6 separate regions of the Homo sapiens genome follow, and all the other regions are linked to region 1. The links are contacts of gene promoters, found by promoter capture Hi-C in blood cells and fetal thymus (Javierre and others, 2016). All regions are on one chromosome and are shown on one strand. The core of a region is centred on a gene start or on the middle of the fragment in contact, and the rest is flanking DNA. Distances in the headings are between cores, read along the strand shown.

Evidence for each region. Contacts are between HindIII fragments. The CHiCAGO score rates a contact against its expected background, and 5 or more counts as called.
Region 2: a contact is called between a fragment that was not itself captured here and the fragment with the promoter of FHL3 in region 1, in 8 of 17 cell types (neutrophils, megakaryocytes, naive CD4 T cells and 5 more). The highest score is 8.7, in neutrophils.
Region 3: a fragment that was not itself captured here is called in contact with the fragment with the promoter of FHL3 in region 1 in 17 of 17 cell types (M1 macrophages, erythroblasts, endothelial precursors and 14 more); the score reaches 19.7 in M1 macrophages.
Region 4: a fragment that was not itself captured here is called in contact with the fragment with the promoter of FHL3 in region 1 in 8 of 17 cell types (M1 macrophages, megakaryocytes, M0 macrophages and 5 more); the score reaches 9.4 in M1 macrophages.
Region 5: a fragment that was not itself captured here is called in contact with the fragment with the promoter of FHL3 in region 1 in 14 of 17 cell types (naive B cells, total B cells, endothelial precursors and 11 more); the score reaches 13.4 in naive B cells.
Region 6: a contact is called between a fragment that was not itself captured here and the fragment with the promoter of FHL3 in region 1, in 1 of 17 cell types (total B cells). The highest score is 6.6, in total B cells.

Annotation. Positions count from the first base shown.
Region 1 is chr1:38,003,752-38,007,565 of GRCh38, forward strand. FHL3 (four and a half LIM domains 3) reads right to left here and starts at 1,763. Exons shown (of 6, transcript NM_004468.5): 1 at 1,606-1,763. RefSeq lists an enhancer at 1-581 and silencers at 1,434-1,793, 1,824-1,883. The HindIII fragment of the contact is 9,980 bases long and covers 1-3,814 here.
Region 2 is chr1:38,875,120-38,878,933 of GRCh38, forward strand. GJA9 (gap junction protein alpha 9) reads right to left here. Exons shown (of 2, transcript NM_030772.5): 2 at 1-1,074. The coding sequence starts at 979. It overlaps RRAGC-DT (RRAGC divergent transcript), which reads left to right. Exons shown (of 2, transcript NR_186075.1): 2 at 822-1,107. The region is part of intron 1 of GJA9-MYCBP (GJA9-MYCBP readthrough); the gene reads right to left. Among named protein-coding and RNA genes, the nearest start is that of MYCBP, 3.7 kb to the left of the region's middle. The HindIII fragment of the contact is 8,897 bases long and covers 1-3,814 here.
Region 3 is chr1:38,855,023-38,858,836 of GRCh38, forward strand. RRAGC (Ras related GTP binding C) reads right to left here. Exons shown (of 7, transcript NM_022157.4): 2 at 1,857-2,060; 3 at 686-885. Among named protein-coding and RNA genes, the nearest start is that of RRAGC, 2.8 kb to the right of the region's middle. The HindIII fragment of the contact is 1,043 bases long and covers 1,372-2,414 here.
Region 4 is chr1:38,838,621-38,842,434 of GRCh38, forward strand. It overlaps RRAGC (Ras related GTP binding C), which reads right to left. Exons shown (of 7, transcript NM_022157.4): 7 at 1-1,084. The coding sequence ends at 933. Among named protein-coding and RNA genes, the nearest start is that of RRAGC, 19 kb to the right of the region's middle. The HindIII fragment of the contact is 1,074 bases long and covers 1,462-2,535 here.
Region 5 is chr1:38,818,167-38,821,980 of GRCh38, forward strand. No RefSeq gene overlaps it. Among named protein-coding and RNA genes, the nearest start is that of RRAGC, 40 kb to the right of the region's middle. RefSeq lists silencers at 78-307, 1,198-1,365. The HindIII fragment of the contact is 513 bases long and covers 1,607-2,119 here.
Region 6 is chr1:38,586,775-38,590,588 of GRCh38, forward strand. No RefSeq gene overlaps it. Among named protein-coding and RNA genes, the nearest start is that of LINC01685, 110 kb to the left of the region's middle. The HindIII fragment of the contact is 4,476 bases long and covers 1-3,814 here.

The sequences.
Region 1 (3,814 bases), core at 513-3,012:
CCCAGCCCAGAGCTCTTCCCTCTCCCTAAAAATGCTGCCCTGGTGATGAAGCGGATGGTGACATGGGGGTGGTCAGTTTTTAAGGGCAGGGGAACAGGAGATGCACCAGAGCCTGGCTCTTCTCCTCAGCTGCTAGCCCTGTGATTGGAAGACACCCAGAAGCCTTTCCAATGCCCCATGCCAACCATTCAATCCTTCTGCCCCCACCCCCAACATGCCCACTGTCCAGGAGGACCCTGGCCAGGTCCCACAGCTGTGAGTCAGGATCAGAACAGACCCCTCCCCCACCTTCTAGAAGCTGACAGGAGACTTAAGGGGAGAAATCCAACTCCCTCAACCCTCACCCTCTGCTACCGGGCACCAACCCCAAGCTCTGCTCTCCCCCATGTGGCCTGGAAGTCAGAGAAGTTTAGGGAAGGGGGTTGGGGAGCAAGATCCCGCAGCTGCTCTGGGGACATGAGAGGAACAGTTCATTCACCCTGGGTCCCCCAGGGCTGAGGCAGCCCATCCAAGATTTGAGTTCAAAAATAAGTTGGGGCTGTCTTGGTGGCTGTGTGTGTGCGTGGGGCTCTTCTTGATCTCGAACTTACTGTCTCAGGGCCTCTGCCTCATGGGGGATCGGTAGGCTCAGAGTTTCTGTTTCCCCACAGCCTCACCTCCCAATGGTTCAGGCCCGGGTAAGTCAGGGGCTGTCCTGGAAGCTGTCAGACCACCTAGGTCTCTCTGCCCCCACTTAGTCTCAGTTTCTGGTGTCTGTCTCTGCTTCACTCAGCATCTCTGTGTCTGGGCACACTTCAGTCTCTGTCTTTAGGTTTTGGACGGCTCTGTATCTTGACTGGCTGTCCCCCAGGGGGCCCATGCCTCTGTGGATCTCAAGTCTTGGTCTCTTCTTGTCTACATGGCTGAATGTCTCAATCCCCACCACCTCCCTTTCTCTGTCTCTGCATCCAAGTCTCTTTCGCCACCTCTGCACGCCTGAATGTCTCTGTCTCTAGTCTCTGAGCGTCTCTGCAGGCCTCAGAGAGCAGATTCAGCATGAGGCCAATGACGCCCAAGCCTCAGGGCACCTCCAAGGCCCGGGGAAGGGCCCTAGGGAATGTGTTCGCTGGGGTCCCACGTATGCTTTTTCTGAAAATGCTCCACAAAGCCTAGGACGGCCCCCATGCCTCGGGTCTGTCCACCAGTAACTCTGTACGCCCGGTGTGTCCTTGTTTCAGTGGTCTCGGTAGCCTCCTGTGCCTCGAGTCCCTGCCTGTCTCGGTCTCTCGCTCCACCGGGCTTTCCGAGAACCTCAGTTTCTCCAGCGCTTCTGGTCGGTCGGTCTGTCTGTCTCTCTCCGGCTTTTCTATTTCAAACTTAGCCCCCTCCCCCGCCCAACTCTCGCTGCCGCCCCCGCCCCCGCCCCGCCCGATAGCCCGGAGGGGTCCAGTCCCGGCGGGCGCTGTCCCGGGCTCGGCGTGCCCCGGGCACCCGTGGCCAGAGCCCGGCGGGTACAGGGGACCGGGGCCGCGGCTGGCCTCAGCCCTCCGCGGGTCCCTTCGCTCCCCGGCCTGGGCGCGGGGGCGGACCGCCAGGGCTGGGAGCCGGGGTCGGCGGGGCGCTCACCTCGAAGCGGGCGGCGGGAGCGGGGAGCGCGCGGCGCAGGCGGGGCCGGGAACCGGGCGCCGCGTCCCTCGGCGGCTCCTACCTGCGGGCCGGGCCAAGCGGGGGCCGAGCGAGCTGCCGGCGAGGCTGCCGACTGCAGACGGACCGTGTGGGCGAGTGGGAGCGCGGCCCCAACCCCTCCCCGAGGAAGTGAGCGCGGGCCCGCCCCGCCCGGACCCCGCCCCCGGCCCCCCAGCCCGCCGCGGGGGCCAGACCCCGCCCCCACCTCCCTTTCGGCCGCCAGTCGGCCCGGCCCCCTCCTCCCGCCCGGCCTAACCTGGCTCTCCCAACCTTCAAGCGGCCGGGACCCCGCCCCTGTCCCCTCCCCGCAGCCTCTGTTCTCCTCCCCTCCCACCCCCCATCCCCAGCTGCCAGAGGGAGACTGCTGTATTCCATCTCAGGCCGGCGACACGAGACCCCGCAGACCATGGTCCACTGGGGGAGTCCTCTGGCCTCCTCGGATCCCCCCACCCCTTCACCTTACCCCAGGGGTGACACTCAGCCCGGCCTTAATCCAGCCTGGAGGAGGACGTTTTGACTCTGCTGTCATGAGCCTGTCAGCGGGCACCAAGGTGTTCTCTGAAAACATGGGACGAAGAGAGGACCCCTCCCCACCATAGGGCCTTGACCTCCAAAGGGTTTTATTCCACAACTTTGAGTAGCAAAAACAGGGGTAACCACCTCCCCACTTCCAGCAGCCTCCTGACACTGAGAAGTCCTGCCTTGCCTGGGTTTCCGCAGTGCCCAGGAATAGTTTTGACCTTTGAGGCCCGGGGGAGACCCTAATCCTCGGCCCCATGATCTTTGGGCTTCTAGGGTGGGGTGTGAGGAGTGTGAGAGGATGGGGCACCTCAGGGGTGGTGGAGGAGAGGGGAGGGGACCTCTGCGGTGTCTGAGCCTCTGGCTTCCTCCCTGTGTCCGTGAGGGAGGACTGGCGCCTGCTAGGGACACGAGGCCCCTCCAGGTCCTTAAGGCCACCCCCCCTGGGATCCTCAGGCTTGTCACTAGGAATAAATAGCCTCAGTCTGGAAGAGGTGGGGGAGGGAGGGAGGCAGGAGGCTCTACTGTGCTGTTTGTGGAAACAAGAGACAACAAATCAACCCCGGAATAACCTTAGCATCTAGAGTGAAGATTCAGGTGCCCACAGAGGCCTCCCCACACCCCAGGCTGGGTGTAGCAGAGCTCTCACGGAGGAACTAACACCCTCCCAGGCTGGGGCTCCTGAGAACCTTTCCGTCCCATCTCTGCATCATGCCTGGGTTCCTGGGTCCCAAGTCACCCACCAGGTCTGGTTTCCTTTCAAAATTAAATCATTGCTTGCTTATTATTGCTGTTGTTGCCTAAATGGTAAGAGCCATGAAGGCAGGGCTCCGTTTTGTTCCCCACTGCCTTCTCAGTACTTACTCCAATATCCGGCACATAATAAACATCTGATGAATGAATGGATACCAGACACTGCTTCAGTATGTATGCCCCTCTAACATCCTCGGTTTGGATCACAGGCACCTGCTATCTGGAGTCCAGGCAGTGAGCATCCAGCCCATGGATGGGGCCTTTTTCTGGGATTTTTTTTTTTTTTTTTTTTTTTTTTTTTTTTGAGATGGAGGCTTGCTCTGTTGCCCAGGCCGGAGTGCAGTGGCGCACTCTCCGCTCACTACAACCTCCACCTCCCAGGTTCAAGCGATTCTTCTGCCTCAGCCTCCCAAGTAGCTGGGACTGCAGGTGTGCACCACCACGCCCGGCTAAATTTTTTTTTTGTATTTTTAGTAGAGACGGGGTTTCACCATCTTGGCCAGGCTGGTCTCAAACTCCTGACCTCAAGATCTGATCTGCCTGCCCCAGCCTCCCAAAGTGCTGGGACCACAGGCATGAGTGACCATGCCCAGCCTCTCTGGGATGTATCTTGCAGGTGTAAGAGACTCCCAGCCCAGGGGAGTGCAGTGAAGACTACTCAGCCTTGGTGGAGTGGGTACCAAGAGGAGGTCAGCTCTGGGGGACGGGAGGGCAAAGGTGGGGAGCCTTCAGAAAGCAAGGGGTTATGAGTGAGTACAGAAGGGGCCTGATAAAAGGCAGAGTATTGGAATCTCTGTTCTTGATGCATGGCTCTAATCTCTCCTAAATAGCCTTAATGAGAGCCAGTACTTCCTGAGTTCTTTCTTTGCACCAGTCC
Region 2 (3,814 bases), core at 486-2,985, 870 kb after region 1:
TTTCCTGTTCATCCAAAATGCATTTCTCATCATTTACACTATGATTGTCAGGATTTGGCTGGAATACAGAAGATGAATTTAAACTAGGGTACACTGCAGTGTGTGTTTGCTTTTCCACTAACAGATTATAATCAGGGGCAGAAGGGAGTCGCTTCAGTGAATTTGCAGATGTGCTCTGGTATTTGGCTACATTTTGTTTTGCCTTGTTTGCATGGAATTCATTATGTTCCTTCTTCAACTTGTATTTTCCCCAAAGCCCTCTTTTAATCTTTTTAAAACCTAGGTGGAAAATTTCAAGAATGTTTAAGAAAAGTGAAATAGTGGCTATAGATTGCATAAATAATAGGAATATTGTCTTTTCTGTTGGTCTTGAGACAAAACAGTCGATTATATTTGGACACGGGTGGCCATGGCACTTAAATAGCGGCTCTAAGTGAAATCCATATAAAAGGTACTGTCCAATCATGAATCCAACTTCAACCACAGAGCGAGTGAAAATGTGTATCACATAAGTGCAAAGCAAGGTTCCTCTGAGTGGAGCTTTATTTAGTTTCCTTTTCTCCAGCTGACAAAGCTCTTGCTCCAATCTCCTCCGATCCCTAGGCATTTCAAACTCTACCTCCTCCAGTTCTACTCTTAACTGAGCTTTCATCCTTTGCCTCTCTTCCTCAAGAACTCTCAGTCGGTACAATGCATGGCCCATGTAGACCAGGGATGGTGAAGACACAAATATCACCTGCAGAACCCAGTATCTAATGAGGGAGATAGGAAAGGCCTGGTCGTAGCATACATTTCTGCAGCCTGGTTGTTCTGTATTGCAGATGAAGCCAGACTGCTCATCATTCCAGACATCTTCAGCTGCTACACCCAGAACAAGCATTCGAAATATGAACAGGATGGTGAGCCAGATCTTTCCAATCATGGTGGAGTGGATGTGAACTTCCTCCAGAGTATCTCCAAGGAGATTCCAGTCCCCCATGTTTATTTAGTCAGCCATCTTAGCTCTGATCCACATCAAATAAGAGGCAGATAAATTCTTCCATTCTGAAGGGAGCACTATTTCTTAAAGCAAACCTATGGTGAAAATATAACAATATGTCACTTCTATATGCTGGTTGCTTTACTTTTTCCCTAGATAGCTGTGGGGTTTTTTCTTTGTTTGTTTGTTTGTTGAGACAGAGTCTCCCTCTGTTGCCCAGGCTGGAGTACAGTGTTGCAACCACAACTCCCTGCAGCCTCAACCTCCCAGACTCAAGCGATCATCTCCCCTCTCAGCCTCCTGAGTAGCTGGGACTGCAGGTGTGTGCAACTACACCCAGATAATTTTTTTTATTTTTTTGTAGAGACAGGGTCTCACTCTATTGCTGCAGCTAGTCTTAAACTCCTAGACTCAAGTGATCCTCTTGCCTTCACCTCCCAAAGTGTGGGAATTACAGGTGTGGGTCACCACACCTGGCCAAAGTGTGAATCTGTTACCAATAATATACTTAAATGTCAGGAATTTAAAATCACTTATATTTAGACATCACAATACAATGAAAAAAACATGATACCTGGAGGAGGAGTGTATATATTCTCTATTAAGAATATAGGCTGGGCGGGGTGGCTCACACCTGTAATCCCAACACTTTGGGAGGCCAAGGTGGGTGGATCATTTGAGGTCAGGAGTTCCAGACCAGCCTGGCCAACATGGTAAAACCCCGCCTCTACTAAAAATACAAAAATTAGCCAGGCGTGGTGGCAGGCGCTTGTAGTCCCAGCTACTCGGGAGGCTGAGGCAAGAGAATCGCTTGAACCTGGAAGGCAGAGGTTGCAGTGAGCTGAGATCAAACCCTTGACCTCAGATGATCTGGCCACCTCGGCCTCCCAAAGTGCTGGGATTACAGGCATGAGCCAATGCGCATGGCCTAAAATTATATTCTTTTTTTTTTTTTTTTTGAGACGGAGTCTCACTCTGTAGCCCAGGCTGGAGTGCAATGGCATGATCTCAGCTCACCGCAACCTCCACCTCCTGGGTTCAAGCGATTCTCCTGCCTCAGCCTCCTGAGTAGCTGTGATTACAGGCATGCACCACCATGCCCGGATAATTTTGTATTTTTAGTAGAGATGATGTTTCTCCATGTTGGCCAGGCTGGTCTCGAACTCCTGACCTCAGGTGATCTGCCCACCTCGGCCTCCCAAAGTGCTGGGATTACAGGCGTGAGCCACCATGCCCAGCCTATTGTTGTTTTTCAACAGAACTTTTGGAAAGGTTTCTAAAACTAGTAACCTGATCTTAACCTTATTTATTAAGATTATTTGATATAAAAGTTATAACAAAGTCAATTTCTTTTTCCCCAACATGCCATTACTGGCTTGAAAAGTCAGTGATTTTTTTTTCTTTCTTTCTTTCTTTTGGGACAGAGTCTTGCTCTGTCGCCAGGCTGGAGTGCAGTGGCGCAATCTCGGCGCATTGCAACCTCCGCCTCCTGGGTTCAAGCGATTCCCCTGCCTCATCCTCCTGAGTAGCTGGGATTACAGGCGCCTGCCAACACCCCCCGGGATAATTTTTTGTATTTTAGTAGACACGGGGTTTCACCATGTTGGCCAGGATGATCTCGATCTCCTGACCTCGTGATCCACCCGCCTCAGCCTCCCAAAGTGCCAGGATTACAGGCATGAGCCACCGTGCCCGGTCAAAAAGTCAGTGATTTTTAAATCTCATTTATACACATAGGAAAACGAATATGCTTCATTTGATAATTCAGTAAGATATGGCATTCAGTGAAACCAGAGGAAACAGATCTGGCTGTCATAGGAATTTAGATTAGTTTTTTTAATCCAAATTGAAATAAATTTGAAATAAATTCTGGTTTCTTCCTGGCAATTGGTGAACATTTTCAGAAATTCATCTCAGTAATATTTATGAATATGTATAAAGTACTTATTATACTTTACTATGAAAAAGTATACTTTTTTTCTTTTTTTTTGGTGGGGGGAGACAGAGTCTCACTCTGTTGCCCAGACTAGAGTGCAGTGGCAGGATCTCAGCCCACTGCAACCTCCACTTCCCAGGTTCAAGTGATTCTCGTGCCTGAGCCTGCCAAGTAGCTGAGACTACAGGCAAGTGCCACCACGCTTGGCTAATTTTTGTATTGTTAGTAGAGACGGGGTTTCACCATGTTGGCCAGGCTGGTCTTGAACTCCTGAACCTTGAGTGATCCACCCGCCTCGGCCTCCCATAGTAAGCCACCGCGCCCAGCCCAAATTTTGTAAATTCTTACGTTAAAATGAACTTCAAGCCCAGCACAGTGGCTCACACCTGTAATCCCAGCACTTTGGGAGGCCGATGCGGATCACCTGAGGTCAGGAGTTCGAGACCAGCCTGGCCAACATGGTGAAACACTGTCTCTACAAAAATACAAAAAATTAGCTGGGTGTGGTGGCAGGCATCTGTAACCCCAGCTACTCAGGAGGCTGAGGCAGGAGAATCACTTGAACCTGGGAGGCAGAGGTTGCGGTGAGCCAAGATCGCGCCATTGCACTCCAGCCTTGGCGACAAGAGCAGAAACTCTGTCTCAGAAAACAAAAAGAACTCCAAAAATTCTCAACTATTTTATGGTACCAGAATCTTTTTTTTTTTTTTTTTTTTGAGACGAAGTTTCCCTCTTGTTGCCCAGGCTGGAGTGCAATGGCACAATCTCGGCTCACCGCAACCTCCACCTCCCAGGTTCAAGTGATTCTCCTGCCCCAGGCTCCAGAGTAGCTGGTATTACAGACATGCGCCACCATGCCCAGCTAATTTTGTATTTTTAGTAGAGATGGGGTTCCTCCA
Region 3 (3,814 bases), core at 643-3,142, 850 kb after region 1:
CCTATCAAGTAGGTATTATTTAATAATAATTTCTTAACAGTAGTTACAAACCAATAGTCCTCTAAATTTAATAGCAGCCTTATGCACATTTATAAGATAAACCCACCTAAGCCAAACTTTATAGAGTTTCATAAAAGTATAAAGTGTTTTAAAAGCTAAGATATATTACAGTCAGTCCAGGGGGGAGGTGGAAGGGAGCCAGCAGGAAAAATAAAAATGAAAAATAAAAAGAGTCAGTCCAGATTTGAAAGTGCACTCTCTGTATAAGGCTGTTCCTACTGAGAAAGATACTGTCTAAGACTCAAGCTAAAGACTTCCACAACAAATGTGACAGATTCACTTCACTGATGCAAGGCGGGGAAAAGTAATGAAACCAAGAGGAAGGAGTCCCAAAGCAGATTTATGCCATGAAGAAACAGCCTGACTCCAGTCTCTTGAGATGAATTTGGAAAAGCACCAGTGGAAACACTTCACATGACTTCAATCTCCAGGAAAACGCAAAAAGTGGGTAATTTCTCAATATCAGGCTCCCCAGACAGCCTGGAATTCAACAACAAGATCAAAAACATAAAAGATGTGGCAAAGGGCACACAGGTAGCAGAAAGCTATGGTGTTTGTAATGACAGAGATGGGAATACATTTACACCTTGTTCAGGGCTTTCATATCAAACACACATGTTGTTACCTAAGATGGAGTTTTTCTAGCCCAGCATCTGCAAGGTCATCATTGGCCCTTTGATGAATGTCCCTCTGTGTTTCTATTTTGTGATCATCAGACAGACCATCAACTTTGTGAATAAAAACCTCAAAATTCATGTCTGGGTTAACTTTGTAGGCTTTAGAAACAGTAATGTGAAGTCTTGTTAAAGCCTCCATGTAGTCATCCTGTAAGTCAGAACAAAATATTTTTTAAAATAAATCTTACAAAAGCCAAGTAATGAGTTAAAGCCTCAAACCACCTCTTTCCCCAACCACAGAAAAATACTATCCTAATTATCATCAATATTCAAACATTCAAATATACTATACTACTAAATAACTCTTCAATTGTCTCAAGATAAAAAAATTCAATTACCAAGTTAATGCTTGTAATTTTTAATATTAATTTAAGAAAGAAAAAAATGATATGAACATTTTTTCCCAACATAATTTTTTTAAGTAATCCCAGCTCTGCCATTTATTCAGTGTGTCACTTTAAGCAAGCTGCTTAAACTCTGATCTCAGTTTTCTCATCTGTAAGATCAGAATTACAATACCTACCTAACAATATTGTGAAGCTTAAATTAATTAGGTCCTGTACGTGAAGGCACCCTCTGTAGAGCCTATCACTCAGAAAGCATTCTTAACTAATGCTTAAGCTTATAAAAAGTAAGCTTCTTAAAGGATAGGGACTTGCCCCATTCATCTCACTGACTGCCACATGCTAGGCCCTCCATAAATGTTTGTTGAGCTAAACTCAATTTTGACAATTAAGTAAACTATTCACTCTAATATCTACTGACTCAGTTCTCATATTCCTCTTTATGTTATGGGATGGGATATTTTCAGGGAATAACATCACTATTATTATAAAATTATTATAAAATATGGCAACCAATAAAAGTGGAAAGCCAATGTTAGCTGCTCATCAACTAGGACTCAAGGATGTAAACCATATCTCCTAATCATCTGATATTCTGTACCTGCACAATGCATGTCTGCTCCCAAAGCACTCTGCAACTGCATCTCTTACACTGTTAGGGAATCTACTGCCAAAGAGATAAGCTGCAACCACATGACAAAGAAGATAAACAACTTTCCTTTGTTTCTACATCTTTTTCCCACCAGGAAAGAGGAGTAAACACATTACTGACTACCTGTGCGTCAATGACGTATATCAATGCTCCTGTTCCCCTGAAGATCATCTCATAGTCAAAGGTTGGGTCAAAAAAGTCCATTTGCCCAGGAAAATCCCATATCTGGAAATTCACAAAGGAGCTATTGGAAATGTCATCCTTATAAATCTTGTTGGTACTTTCCAAAAAGAGGGTCTCGTTGGGTGACATCTTATGAAACACCACCTGTTAAAAGAAAACAGGCAATTTTATGACTATTAAACTTCAGAATTTAAATTTAAAATTCCACCCTGGTTTAACATTTAAACATTTGATCCCACAAAAAAAAATTTTTTTTGAAAAGTAGAAACTGAATGGTGAATCCATTGGTATTCACTATCCCTTTATTTTTGACAAAAGAAGACACCAAATTAATTTCCATTAAATCTATTTTGGAGCTAAATCTTTTCTCCTATGTTCTATGCACCATACTCAGTACTAATAGTAGCAATCTCTATCACCTCCATTAGTTTTTCTGGGGGAAAGCTAACATTAATTCTACCAAAATCTGCTTTAAGATTATAAAAGTCTTACAGCTAAAGCTTAAGAAGTCTGGTTTATTCAAAAATTACTTGAATGCCTACCTCAGGCTCTGAGGAGTAATTTAAAAAGTGAAACAGACTGGACTCTGCCCTCACTGACTTTGCAGTCTAAGAAGGGCAGTAACTATACCAAGTAGAAAGTGAAAACGTCCAGGGGGAGGCCACGGGGACTGACAGGGAAAAGATAGCTCTCATGAGAAAAGAAACGTAAAGGCAATTGTTAAGAGTCACAATAATCGGCCCGGGTGCGGTGGCTCACGCCTTCAATCCCAGCACTTTAGGCGGCCGAGGCGGGCGGATCACTTGAGGTCAGGAGTTCGAGACCAGCCTGACCAATATGGTGAAACCCCATCCCCACTAAAAATACCAAAATTAGTCGGGCGTGGTGGTGCACGCCTGTAGTCCCAGCTACTTGGGAAGCTGAGGCAGGAGAATCACTTGAACCCAGGAGGTGGAGGCTGCAGTGAGTGAAGATCACACCACTGCCCTCCAGCCTGGGCGATGAGCAAGACTCCATAACAAACAAACAAAAAAAAAAGGATCACAATAATCACAACCTACACAGTTCTAACATAAAACTACTTTGCCTCTTACTGTCTAGAAGAGAAAAGTGAACAATTACTCTCAAGGTTTTCTCAGTAACAAATGTGAATAACTGAAATTAGTTTACTAAAAACCTACAGTCAACGTACCCAAGTTTTGCTGTAGAGGTGAAAATCAAGGTAAATAAAACACAGTACTCCAGCAAACCTGGAAGAACGCTGCTTTTTAAAAAGATCCCATCTACAAAATATCACAGATTCAGAAAGAAAAAAAAATCACAGATTTATTTTGGATAGGCCTTTGCAACAGAGTGGAGAGGTGAAAAGACCAGGTGCCTGCTGATACTAGTTTTATTACCAGCTCACTCCGCGTATAATGGGTTTGGCTGATGGAGGAAGTCAACCTTGCCTCTATTTAACCCTCACTAAACAGTGTAGGCCAGCGTGGTGACTCACACCTGTAATCCCAGCACTTTGGGAGGCCAAGGCGGATGATCACTTGAGGTCAGCAGTTCGAGATGACCCTGGCCAACATGGTGAAACCCCGTCTCTACTAAAAATACAATAATTAGCCGGGCGTGGTGGCGCGCGCCTGTAATCCCAGCTATTCGGGAGGCTGAGGCGGGAGAATTACTTGAACCAGGGAGGTGGAGGTTGCAGTGAGCCGAGATTGCACCACTGCATTCTCCAGCCTGGGCGACAGAGCGAGAGACTCCGTCTCAAAAACATAAACAAACAAACGTGTACAGCCCTCCATTTGTTCATGAAGGCCCAAAAGTGAAAACAAACAGACTAGGTCTGCAAAATATTCTCAAAGTCTCAGATTTTTAAAAACACACCCCTACAGGGGGAACAG
Region 4 (3,814 bases), core at 749-3,248, 840 kb after region 1:
ACTCCAACTCCCAGTGGACAGTCCCCCAATGCCTTAGGGTCACTCGTGGTCAACCAAATGCAATCAAGAAGCTCGATAGCTTAGAATAAAAGGTCTGTAGAGGCTGATATCAAGATTAAAGTAAGCTAAACATTTCAGTGACACAATGAGTTTCTCCCCTAGAAGGGGACTGTGGGAAAACTTTTAATTCCCTTTGTTACACTGAGCATGATCATTTATCTAATGCAGAAGAAAGAACCCAGACATCTGGTACTCAGAACATAGGTGCAAAAATTTTCTTCCATTTCAAAGTTTTTTCAATACTTCCGAGGGAACTAATGCAACCACCGTTGAGCCTTGCTCTCCACCTGATGCAGCATAAAATTTTCTCTCATTTCTTCAATATAGGAATGTCTTGCTGCAGACTATGTGTCTTCCGAGTTAGCAAGCAAATGCATTTAAAAGGTCTTAGTTGTGCAATGTCCAAAACTGAAATCTGAGAGGCAGTGTTAGAACTTAAGCAAGGCAGAATTTTTAGAGTCTACTCAAATGAAAGCCTAAGTGAAGCATATAAAAATTCAGTCTTTTCTATTATTTTCAACTGGAATTGATGGCAACATTCCCTGGTAAGGATGGGTAACTGGTGTTATCTCCAGGTCCAAAATATCCCAACTACTTAAAGGGGACCCAAAAGAGGAGAAACACACACTTGAGTTCTGTGGTCTCCAGAATTTTTTTTTTTTTTTTTTGCCATTTTCAAAAAAGATATAGTAGCTTCAGTTGTACACCACCAGTTGAAGGGGTTTTCATCCAAATGAGAAACTCTACCCCTTGTCTCTAGTGGAACAGGCACCAGATTCCCACAAGCAGCAGCTCCCATGTCCTGTAGCACGTGGCATCCGACCCTGGAGTGAAGAGTAAGCTGGCACAGAGCCCCGACGCTGGGATTCAGACTAGATGGCGTTTCGTGGCGTGCCATTGTGTGTCAGCGCTTTCAGACTGGAGGCACTAGTCTGGTGACCACAGCTCCTGTGAGAAGTCACACCCACCTCAAAAACCTCATGAATAGCTTTTCGGAAACAGTGGAAGTTGTAGTCTATTAAACCTGCAGGAAGGAAAAAGAAAAGAATGCCTCCTGAATTGTCAATTGTGAAATTTTATATTTGGGTTTGCAGCCAAAAATAACTCGGATAAACACTGGTTGGAAATTCTTAAGCCTCCAAACTAGATAGCAACTTCTTCAATCGTAAGAACAGCTGGTCATCGGTCAGGTGCAGTGGCTCACGCCTGTAACCCCAGCACTTTGGGAGGCCGAGGCGGGCAGATCACAAGGTCAGGAGATCAAGACCATCCTGGCTAACACGGTGAAACCCCGTCTCTACTAAAAATACAAAAAAAATTAGCCGGGCATGGTGGCGGGCACCTGTAGTACCAGCTACTCAGGAGGCTGAGGCAAGAGAATGGCGTGAACCTGGGAGGCAAAGCTTGCAGTGAGCCAAGATTGCACCATTGCATTCCAGCCTGGGTGACAGAGCGAGACTCCAACTCAAAAAAAAAAAAAAAAAAAGAACAGCTGGTCATCATATATATCCACCATCATAACGTTCTGCTAGAAAACAAATGCGATTGCAATTAGACCATCACCTTGGCCAAATTAATACCTCTGGCATCCAAGTTTCAAATCACTCAATTCACATTCAAGAAAAGTAAAATATTCAAATACACTGTGTGGCCTGCTTGAACATAGTGTGATCTTTCAATAGTTTATATTTGATTTGATGAAAGTCAGTAAATACTTATTACACAGCACGATAGAGGGTACAATATGTCAAAGGAAACAGCAGATATGGTCCATGACTTCCAGACAGGATATGCTAGCTGAGGCATAAAGCCAAAATACAAGAAACAAACCAAAACAATCTGGTGTCAAATTGACTACAACTGTGAAGGAAATCCAAAGAAAAAGCCAAGTGCAGGGCAAAGTAATCAACTGAAAACTTCAGGGACAAGAAAGAACTTGGGGAATACAGACACGATTTAATTAGGCAGAAAAGGGGAACAAAATCACAAGAAAACTGCAGGGACCTGGCCATGAGAATACAGCACAGGTGGAAGACAGGAAAAAAAAATGGTCTGACTGGAGAGTGGGACATCAGAGAACTCTTGGTAGGAAATACTAAGAATCAGGTCTGAATAAGTAGGTTACAGCCAAATTAAGGTGGACCTTCAGACTCAGAAAAGAAACAAACTATAAAAGACAAGTTTTGATCAATTCAACTACATTAAAATTTATTTCTGTGCCAAATGTAAAATAAAAGACAATCAAGGAAATTTGAACACTGGCCAGATATTTGATATCATTAAGTCACTGTTAATTTTGTTGTTTATTGTTTTAAAAACCACTACCTTTTAGAGATACCTACTGAAATCTGCAGAGACAAAATGATTTCATGTCAGGCCTTTGCTTCAAAATAATCCAGTAGGGAAAGTGGTATAAATATGAAACATAATTGGCTATAATTTTGATAACTACTGAATCTGGGCAATGGATTAAAAAGCTTTTATTATACTGTTTTCTCTACTTTTTTATATATTTGACAGTTTCCACAATAAAATAAAAAAGCTTAATAATCTATAATAACTGAGAAGCTCTCCAGGAAACATGATTGAAGTGTGTGGGAATGAGGGCTGAACCCAGGAGCTGAATGCATAGGGACTCCTCGTGCTGCTCCACCTTTGTATACACCTGAAAATTTCCATAAACAAAAATTTTTTTTTTTTTTTATAGACAGGGTCTCACTCTGACACCCAGGCTAGAGTGCAGTGGTACAATCATAGCTCACTGTAACCTCAAACTCCTGTGCTCAAGCAATCCCGCCTCAGCCTCCTGAGTAGAGAGGACTATAGGTGCAAGCCACCACACCCAACTAACTTTTTAATTTTTTGGTAGAGACAGTGTCTTGCTATCTTGCCCAAGCTGGTCTTGAACTCCTGAGCTCAAGCGTCCTCCCACCTCAGCCTTCCAAAGCACTGAGATTACAGGTGTGAGCCACCACACCCACTCTAAAAAAAAAAATTTTTTTAAGATTAAAATGGTTAGGAGCCAGGCACAAGTGATGCACACCTGTAATCCCAGCTATGTGAGAGGCTGAGGTGTGAAGACTGCTTGAGCTCAGGAGTTCAAGACCACCCTGAGCAACACAGCAAGATTCCCATCTCAAAATAAAAACACAAATAAAAAAATAAACTAACATAGGCTGGGCGCGGTGGCTCACGCCTATAATCCCAGCGCTTTGGGAGGCCGAGGCAGGCAGATCACAAGGTCAGGAGATCAAGACCATCCTGGCTAACACAGTGAAACCCCATCTCTACTAAAAATACAAAAAATTAGCTGGGGGCGTGGTGGCGGGTGCCTGTAATTCCAGCACTTCAGGAGGCTGAGGCAGGTGGATCACGAGGTCAGGAGATCGAGACCATCCTGGCTAACACAGTGAAACCCCTTCTGTACTAAAAATACAAAAAATTAGCCAGGCGTGCAGGCGGGCGCCTGTAGTCCCAGCTACTTGGGAGGCTGAGGCAGGAGAATGGCATGAACCCGGGAGGCGGAGCTTGCAGTGAGCCGAGATCGCACCACTGCACTCCAGCCTGGGTGACAGAGCGAGACTCTATCTCAAAAAAATAAATAAACAAATAAACTAACATAGAGAAAAATAAGGAACTGCTAAGAATCAGTGCAAAAAAAGATAAATATATATGGAACAGGTAAAATGTGAAAGAAGAAACCTGAATAGCCATGAAAAGGTACTTGCCATGAAAAGACACTTGCTCTAACCAG
Region 5 (3,814 bases), core at 613-3,112, 810 kb after region 1:
CAGGGGAGCCTGGGCTGCTTTCTGGAACTCTTTCCTTGCTTTGGTCACTGGGGCCCCGGAAGCGTGGGCTAGGGTGCCAGCGACAGCGCCTTCCGCGGAGCGGCGCGCTGGCCCCTCCGGACCCTGGGTGGGCGGCCGCCCGCCCGCCTCGGAGACCAAGGCTGCCATCTAGCGGCCACGCGGGGCGCCGTCGGGGACCGGAGCCGGGCCGAGCGCTGGGGGCTCCCGGGTCCGCGGCTGCGCGGCGGGGTTCCCAGACCCGGGACTTAGGCGCAAGCTTCAGAGCGAGCTGTGTGACCCTGGGCACGCCCAGCCCTCTTTGATCAACCGTCCTTTCTCGGTAAAACCGAGAGGATACAACTCCTCTGCTCGGGGTCGTCGGGAAACGCAGGACCGAGGGACGGCGCCCCCTCCTTCCCGAGACCACCCGCCCCATCCACTCCGCACCGCACTCCCGTCCAGGGAAGTCTTAAGGAACCCAGTCCCCCTAGACGAGAGGTGGAAGGAGGCGCTGGGGAAATCCTGCAAAGCAGGAATCCGCACTGAACAGCAGGATCCTTTTCCAGGAATTGTAAACCCAGAATTGTAAATAAAATGCTAATGATTTATTCGTGCTCAAACGCCGGGGGCTGCGTCGCCGCTTTTGAAGACAGCTCCAAGCGTGGCTTTCCAGGAAGGCAGGCCTCCCCGCGGCGCCTTCCAGGGCTCCCCGGGGCCTCCTCCCTGGCCGCGGGTCCGGGCTGGGGGACAGGCAGTGGTTCTTGTTGGAGCGCTCCCAACCCGTCCTTCACTGAGACCCGGGTGGTGGTGGAGGAGGTCTTTTTCCTTCCATCCACAGCCGAGTCAGACCCCTCAGCATTCACCCATCATGCATGCAACCAATGCTTCCCCATCGCCAAATACCTACTAAACCCTTAGCTGACCATTGGCAGTCAAAAAACAATCGTGAGAATCACATCTGGTGGGGAAGATTGACTCGATGAATAATCCTACAAATAAACGCGTGCTTCTAAATTACAGTGTCCGGGATAGGGGTAGGGGTGGGGCTGGGGAAGGTAAATACAGTTTTTTAGCTTCCGGGATGTTTTCCATCAAAGTTCTGAGAGCCTGAAGGGGCGCTGAAGGGGCGCTGAAGGGATCGAGTCTAGCCTTCTCTTGTGAGTCTTGACTACCCTACATATTTAAGGTATTTCATTAAAGGGTGAGCTTTAAAAAAATAATAAAATAAATAATTCAAGCAATATGCATTTGCATCTGTGGCTGCCATGGTAGCTCTCTGATGCCTGACCTGGCTGGGGAAGGTGGGAGCCCGGGGGGGGCGGGTCACTGATCTTAGGCAGGAGGAGGTAGAAAACAAGGACTTTCCTTCAAACTATGCAGCCTGTCCAGCTGACCAGAGCAGCAGAGATGGCTCAGTTTTCAGCTGCCTCTCCTGAGTTGACAGGAGGCATGCAAGAGACCCCAGAAGTGGGCTCAGAGCTACCTAGAGAAGCTTCCGTGGTCACAGGGCCTCCACCTCAGGGCCAGGAGACCTGGAGTGGCCCTACCCAGCTCTCCCACAACTCCCTGCAAAAGCACATTGCAGGCTTTGTTTGTTTTCAATAAAAGCTTCTCTTTCCCACACTCCCTTTATATAGTTTCTAGAGAAATAGCACGTCTGGTTAATACTGACCTTCCTAAGGTCTTTTTGAATGTAAGACACAAATGTATCAAGGATGATCAAGGTTCCTACCTCTACCAGCAAGCTGATTTTTTGCATTTGGTGGGCCTCCATCAGACCACCAAGGAAACAGTCATAGATTGTACTGTGGAGGAAATTCAGGCGTCCCGCGGAGGCCTAAGCTGAGTGACCTTTATTCTTGTGTTCACTGGACAAATGTTTATTGATCTCCGCCTATAGACTGACTCCATCCTGGGCCTTGGGGATTTAAGACAGATAAAACAACTCCTGCTCCCAGTGGGCTCACAACCTGAGTCAGGTGCCTCCTTTGCAAAGTAAGGAATTCTGGGATTGCCACCCCTTGCCCCTTGGACCTCCCACCACCTCCACACACACAATTATATGTCCCTTAAATTAGTGTATATTTTGAGGGAATTCATGAAACAATCAGGTCCCTGAAGCTTAAAAAAAAAAAAAGTGATATTTGGTCAGAGCAACCAGGAACAAAGTCCAAAAACAACCTCTTTGGGGTACCCTTGTTGCAATACCCATACCCTAGGCTGAGCTATGTTAAGGATCACACTTTACTTCACAGGGCAGTGTTCTAGTAGATTTCTTTAAAATAATTCACAGTGTTGGAATCTCACAATGTTGGATCAAAGAAATAAGACACAAAAGAGCACACACAGTATGACTCTATTTACATAAAGTTTAAAGCAGGCAGTAATATGCTATTTGGGTGTAAAATTATGAAGAAAGGCAAGGAAATGATCATCACAAAAATTAAGATCATGATCACTTCTAGGAGAGAGAGTGTTGAGATAAAGGACTCTTAGCTCATATGGTGGGTTTCTGTGAGGCTGGCAATACTCCATTTTTGACCTGGGTGGTGGTTACAAAGGTATTTGCTTATAAATTATTTGTCAGATTGTATCTATGTTTTATGCACTTTTACATATGTAATAGCCCCAAATTTTAAAAATGTTAATAAAAAGATAAAGGAAGAAAAAGAACATCCAGCCTATTTTTAAAATGCATTATAATTTTCTCAAACTGAATTCTTCAGTTTGGGTGTCTGTATCTTGCCTGAATTCTCTATCACTGCTTGTATCAACCATTTGATGGTTGCAACAGGTTCTGATCCTGACTCAGCCTTACAGACACTGGGAAGGCAAAAAGCTGAGCCCAGGAGACTTGCACTCTAGTTCTACAGTATTACTAATTCATTGTATGACCTTCCCTCTCTGGGCCTCAGTTTCCTCTACTGCACAATGGCAGGGGTTACAGGAGATGACTTCTCAGGTCTGTGGTCATGTGACAGGTGCCTCGGATCCCACACATCTTGCAGTGATGTCACTGCCAGAACAAGTGAACATCCCCAAAGCAAAGCCATCAAACACCCAAGGTGGCCCTCTGATACTGCCACAGACTGTTTCTGGGGGCTGGCACCCTGCCTTTCACCACCTCCAGAATCTACAGCTAGAGAATCACTCCATCAGTTCTCAGATTCCTCCCCTCTGCGGAGACAAGAAATGTCTTTGGGCCTGATGTCCCTCGGGGATGTGAACACCGCTAAAATCCCATTGATTAATCGGGTCCCACCCTTGGATCAATGGCTGGCATTAGAGGAGCTTAGCGCAGTTTTATTAGTCTGGCTGCCCTCTTGCAGATGTTATAGATGAAGAAATAAAATGAGGAGGAGAGGGAAAAAGGACAAAATCATTAGTCTGAAAGGAGCAAAAGAGCATCTTCTCTGTTTTGTATTCAGATTTAGAGCTGCGCTGTCCAAGCCAGGAGCACACACAACAATCCATTTGTATGCTGTTTCCAGGAGTTCAGCTAGGCCTCCTGCTTTCCCACTTTGCCTGATCGCTGAGATCCCAGGAGCATTTGGTCCGCAGCAATTGCCAGCCCAACCTCTGAAGCCATTTTGCAGGGCTACGAAAACACCTGAGGTCCCATTCATTCATTTATTCATTTCTCACAAGGGCAGAAGGCTTTTGCCTGACGTAGGGAAACAGGCCTAAGTATCTACCAGATAATCCATCTTGAAAATGTCATATTTGCTCTGAAGGGACTGGTCCTTCCACAGGCCTTGCAGAGAAGCCTGCTATAGCCCTCACCTTACCAAAGCTTTGGTTCCAACAGAGAAAA
Region 6 (3,814 bases), core at 542-3,041, 580 kb after region 1:
GGGTGGGTGGGTTACGGGGAGGTGGGAGTGTCGATGGGGGCGGGGCAGGGAATTATCCCTGGCTGAGAAACACTGTGCTAGATAGATCATCCACAAAAGGAGAGAACAGGGGCCCGATGGAAACTGCCAACCTTGGGAATTGGACAGCTTCCCCTACACTGGGAATGGGGGACCCATGAGATTCCAGGAACCACAGTTGGTTCCTCCTTGTTATGTGCTGGGCCACAACCAAAACACAGGTTTCCTTTCCCAGGATCCTCCTGGCTTAGCACGGTCTCTAGTCCTTCCAAGATGGCAGCAGTGTGTAGAGGGAAGGCAGTCTTGGAGCTCTCAGAGTCATTTGGGGTGCTGACTTCCTCGGTCCCGAATGCCTGCCTGCAGGCTTCTGCCTGGTTCCCTGGCTGGGTCCGTGGGCCAGTGATTTCTAGCCTCCCTCTCCACCCCAGGGCTGCTCTTGGCTGCCCCCTTGCTGTCAGGAGCCCCTACTGCAGCAAGACACAGATCAAATCTGTGGGAAGTTTGCTCCTTGTTAGGATAACGTTTGACAAACTGCTTAAAGCATCCCCCAAATCCCCTCAATGTCTTTAGTCCTCTGAGGCTGAATCTTCCAGTAAAGATGACATCCTTTTTAGATCTCTGCTCCCTCCTTGTCAGAAAGTTGTACTCTATGGGCCAGGTACCGTGGCTCATGCCTGTAATCCCAACACCTTAGGAGGACAAGGTGAGGGGATCACTTGAGCCCAGAAGTTTGAGACCAGCCTGGGCAACATAGTGGAGCCCCGTTTCTACAAAAATAAATAAATTAGCCAGGCGTAATGGTGCACTCCTGTAGTCCCAGCTACTCGGGAGACTGAGGTGGGAGGATGGCTTGAGCCCAGGAGGTAGAAGTTACAGTGACCGGTGATTGCACCACTGCACTCCAGCCTAGGTGACAGAGAGAGACCCTGTCTCAAAAAATAAATAAATAAATAAATAAAGCTGTATTCTACATAGCACCAAAGAATGAACACTGCCCAGTGAACGATGATTTCAACTCCATCTCCTCAAAATTGTCCTGCACTTTACAGAAGCTCCTGCTTCACTGAGTCCTTATAAGTGAGTGACATTTTGCAAATACATTGGACTTCCCATTGGTTCCTCCCCAACAGCCACTGGCAACTGGCCAGGCCCAGAAATCCAGATGTGTCCTCTCCATCTGCTAAGTCCTGCCAGACATATGAAGGATGCTTTCTCTTTATCCTTTTCTGTCAGGAGTGTCTGGTAATCCCACTCCTAAACAACCCTGAACATCCCTGCATTTCTGCCAAGCTCTCTAAGGCATTCCAAACTCAGGGCATGCTGTCTCCATCACTGTTGGTTTGTTTGGTGTCCTGTAATGCACGCACATTCTCATCTTCCCAAATGTCTTATGTGCAACCATAGATGGAATTACATATGGACTCTTGGACTTGGGAATAATGCCATGAATTAACATTCTCTTCTAAAATGAATTAATATTTTCCCCTAAAACATTTGTTTATAGAGAATCTTTCTAAAGTGCTCTCTCAAAAAGTCCTGTAACTCTCTTCCAGGGATTCCTTTTTTCACAGCCCATTGATGAAGAGAAAACACGTTTCTCGTTGCTTGAGGTTTCCCTATCAATTTCTCTGTACAGTCCTCAAGTTCTGGGATCGCCAAAGTCCAGTGGGTTCTTCTGCCTCGGAGACTGCCAGCTGAGGCGTGTCAGAGGTCATCCTCCTGCGTCCCAGTTTTTATGTCATGGTAAGTACCAGCAAAAGGCCTGTGTTGGTTGAGTGATGGCCTATCTCTCTCTGCCCATTGCTAATTGGGGTGCACAGAGAATGTATGCGGAGACTGGCAAGATGCTGCCGCCTGTCTATGACCCGTGAAGGAAGGCTAACCCCGGACAGAGGGGAGACCTGGTCCCACTGCATGGCTCAGTTTGTCCAGAGATGCTGTGGTAATGCCTCACCATAGCAGGTCCACAACCTCTCAACCCCACCACCCACCCTGGGAAGTTTCAAGCTCCCACAACATACCCCAGGCAGGGTCATTCTCTGCACCTGGGCCACTGACATCAGGCCCCATCAGAATTTGTAAAGGAACATGGGCTAGGTCGTGGGCATAGAATGACTGAAACAATAGTGATTTCTATGTTCAAGATACTTCTTCCTTCATTTGCCTAGACCTCTTTGAGGTTTCACTGGCCTCAGAGAGAAGGCCTGGGATTACAGGATGGTAGCTTCCATAGAAGGGCCTTGGATCACAGGCAGGTTTGAACCTATGATTTCTTGGGCCTGTCTTGCTCTGGCCTTGGGCAGAGAACCACCCCCATTACTCACACATTGTGCCCCAATCCCACCCACTGAGAGGCCCTGGGACCTGGCTGGGAATCAGGAGCCCCACCCACCCCTCCCACCGGTGGGTAGAACATGCAAGCTGTTGTGTCACTCTGAGCTCAGTCCTGGCCTGTGTTCAGGGCTCTGGGCCAAGCCTCCAGGGGTTCAGTAAGCTGCAGACTCCCCCAGGGCCCTGGGAGTGGAGCACTGTCCTGGGCATCTGCCTGGTTACTCCTCTCACCTCCACAGCTTTGGCTTCATTTACATCACCCTGAATCTTGTTCTGAAAAATCTTTTACAGTAGGAAGGAACCCAGCCAGGGGACCTCTCTGGCCAGGGGCCAAACTCCAAATCAGAGCATTCAGAAGACTCTGCTGCTCACATCCAACCTGCTTCCCCTCTGGCCTGTGGACAATGACTCCTGAGGATCAAACCCACAAGGGAGTGTATTTCTCAGCCTTGGACTGGCCTTGTTCAGGTTTTCTCCTCTCTCCCTACACCCTCCACTCCCCCAGCATAGAGGTTCTAGCTGCCCAGGGCGGGCACTACACAGATGGACTAATTGGGACTGGCACCCATGGGTGTGAAAATCGTCAACTATCTATACTGATTAATGGGTTAGTGTCAACCTGGAGAAGAGTTTAAAGACTGCCCTCAATGTCTGTTTTTAATGTCCTAAACCAGCATACACTTTCATGGGGGGCAGCATCTGTGCCAGGTGCTGTGTATAGCACATTCACAGAATCCATCTCTCTGCGGCCTGAGTAAAGACATCCAGGGCAGACAGAGCAGGAGGCCAGGAGGGGCAGCAAGGAGGCCAGGAGCTAGAATCAGGACATGAGAAGACCTTACTGGCTGGAGCAATTGGACAAAATAGAATGTTCTGGGGACCCAGGGCAAATCCTGGACTTCTGGCAACACAGTGAACGGAGCTGATACAAAAGGGCCTCCCACCTCCCACAGCCACATAGATATGAAGATTGCAAACACATAGTTGAGATTAAAAGAAAGAACTGGGATCCCCAGGCCTCTGGTAGAGACCCCAAAGCCAAAGCTATAAGCAGAAACAGAGAGTACAGTGGTCCCAGGTGTCTTGGACCTAGTGACTTGGGGGGGCTGGGATTTTAATAATCCCAGGGGCTGCACTGTGGCCTTCTGCCTGCACAAGGTAAGAGCATCAAGGGTCAAGGAAAACTATTTCCATCAGTTCAAGGAAGCATCAGACAGATTTCTAGGCCCATGGATGGAAATAAATTGTAAGTCATCTGCAAGAAATCAGAATCCTAGGTGACTCTTCCGTGTAGGTCTGAATTTATATTCCCTAGGTGGTGGAGGAGCCCCAGGCTGCCCCCCGCCCCCACATACACACCCAGAATGATCGGAAATATAAAAGACATTCCACAATCCATGAGACAATCTGAATATCCACTAACAGGAGAACTACTACATTACAGTATCCGCATACAACATTTAGA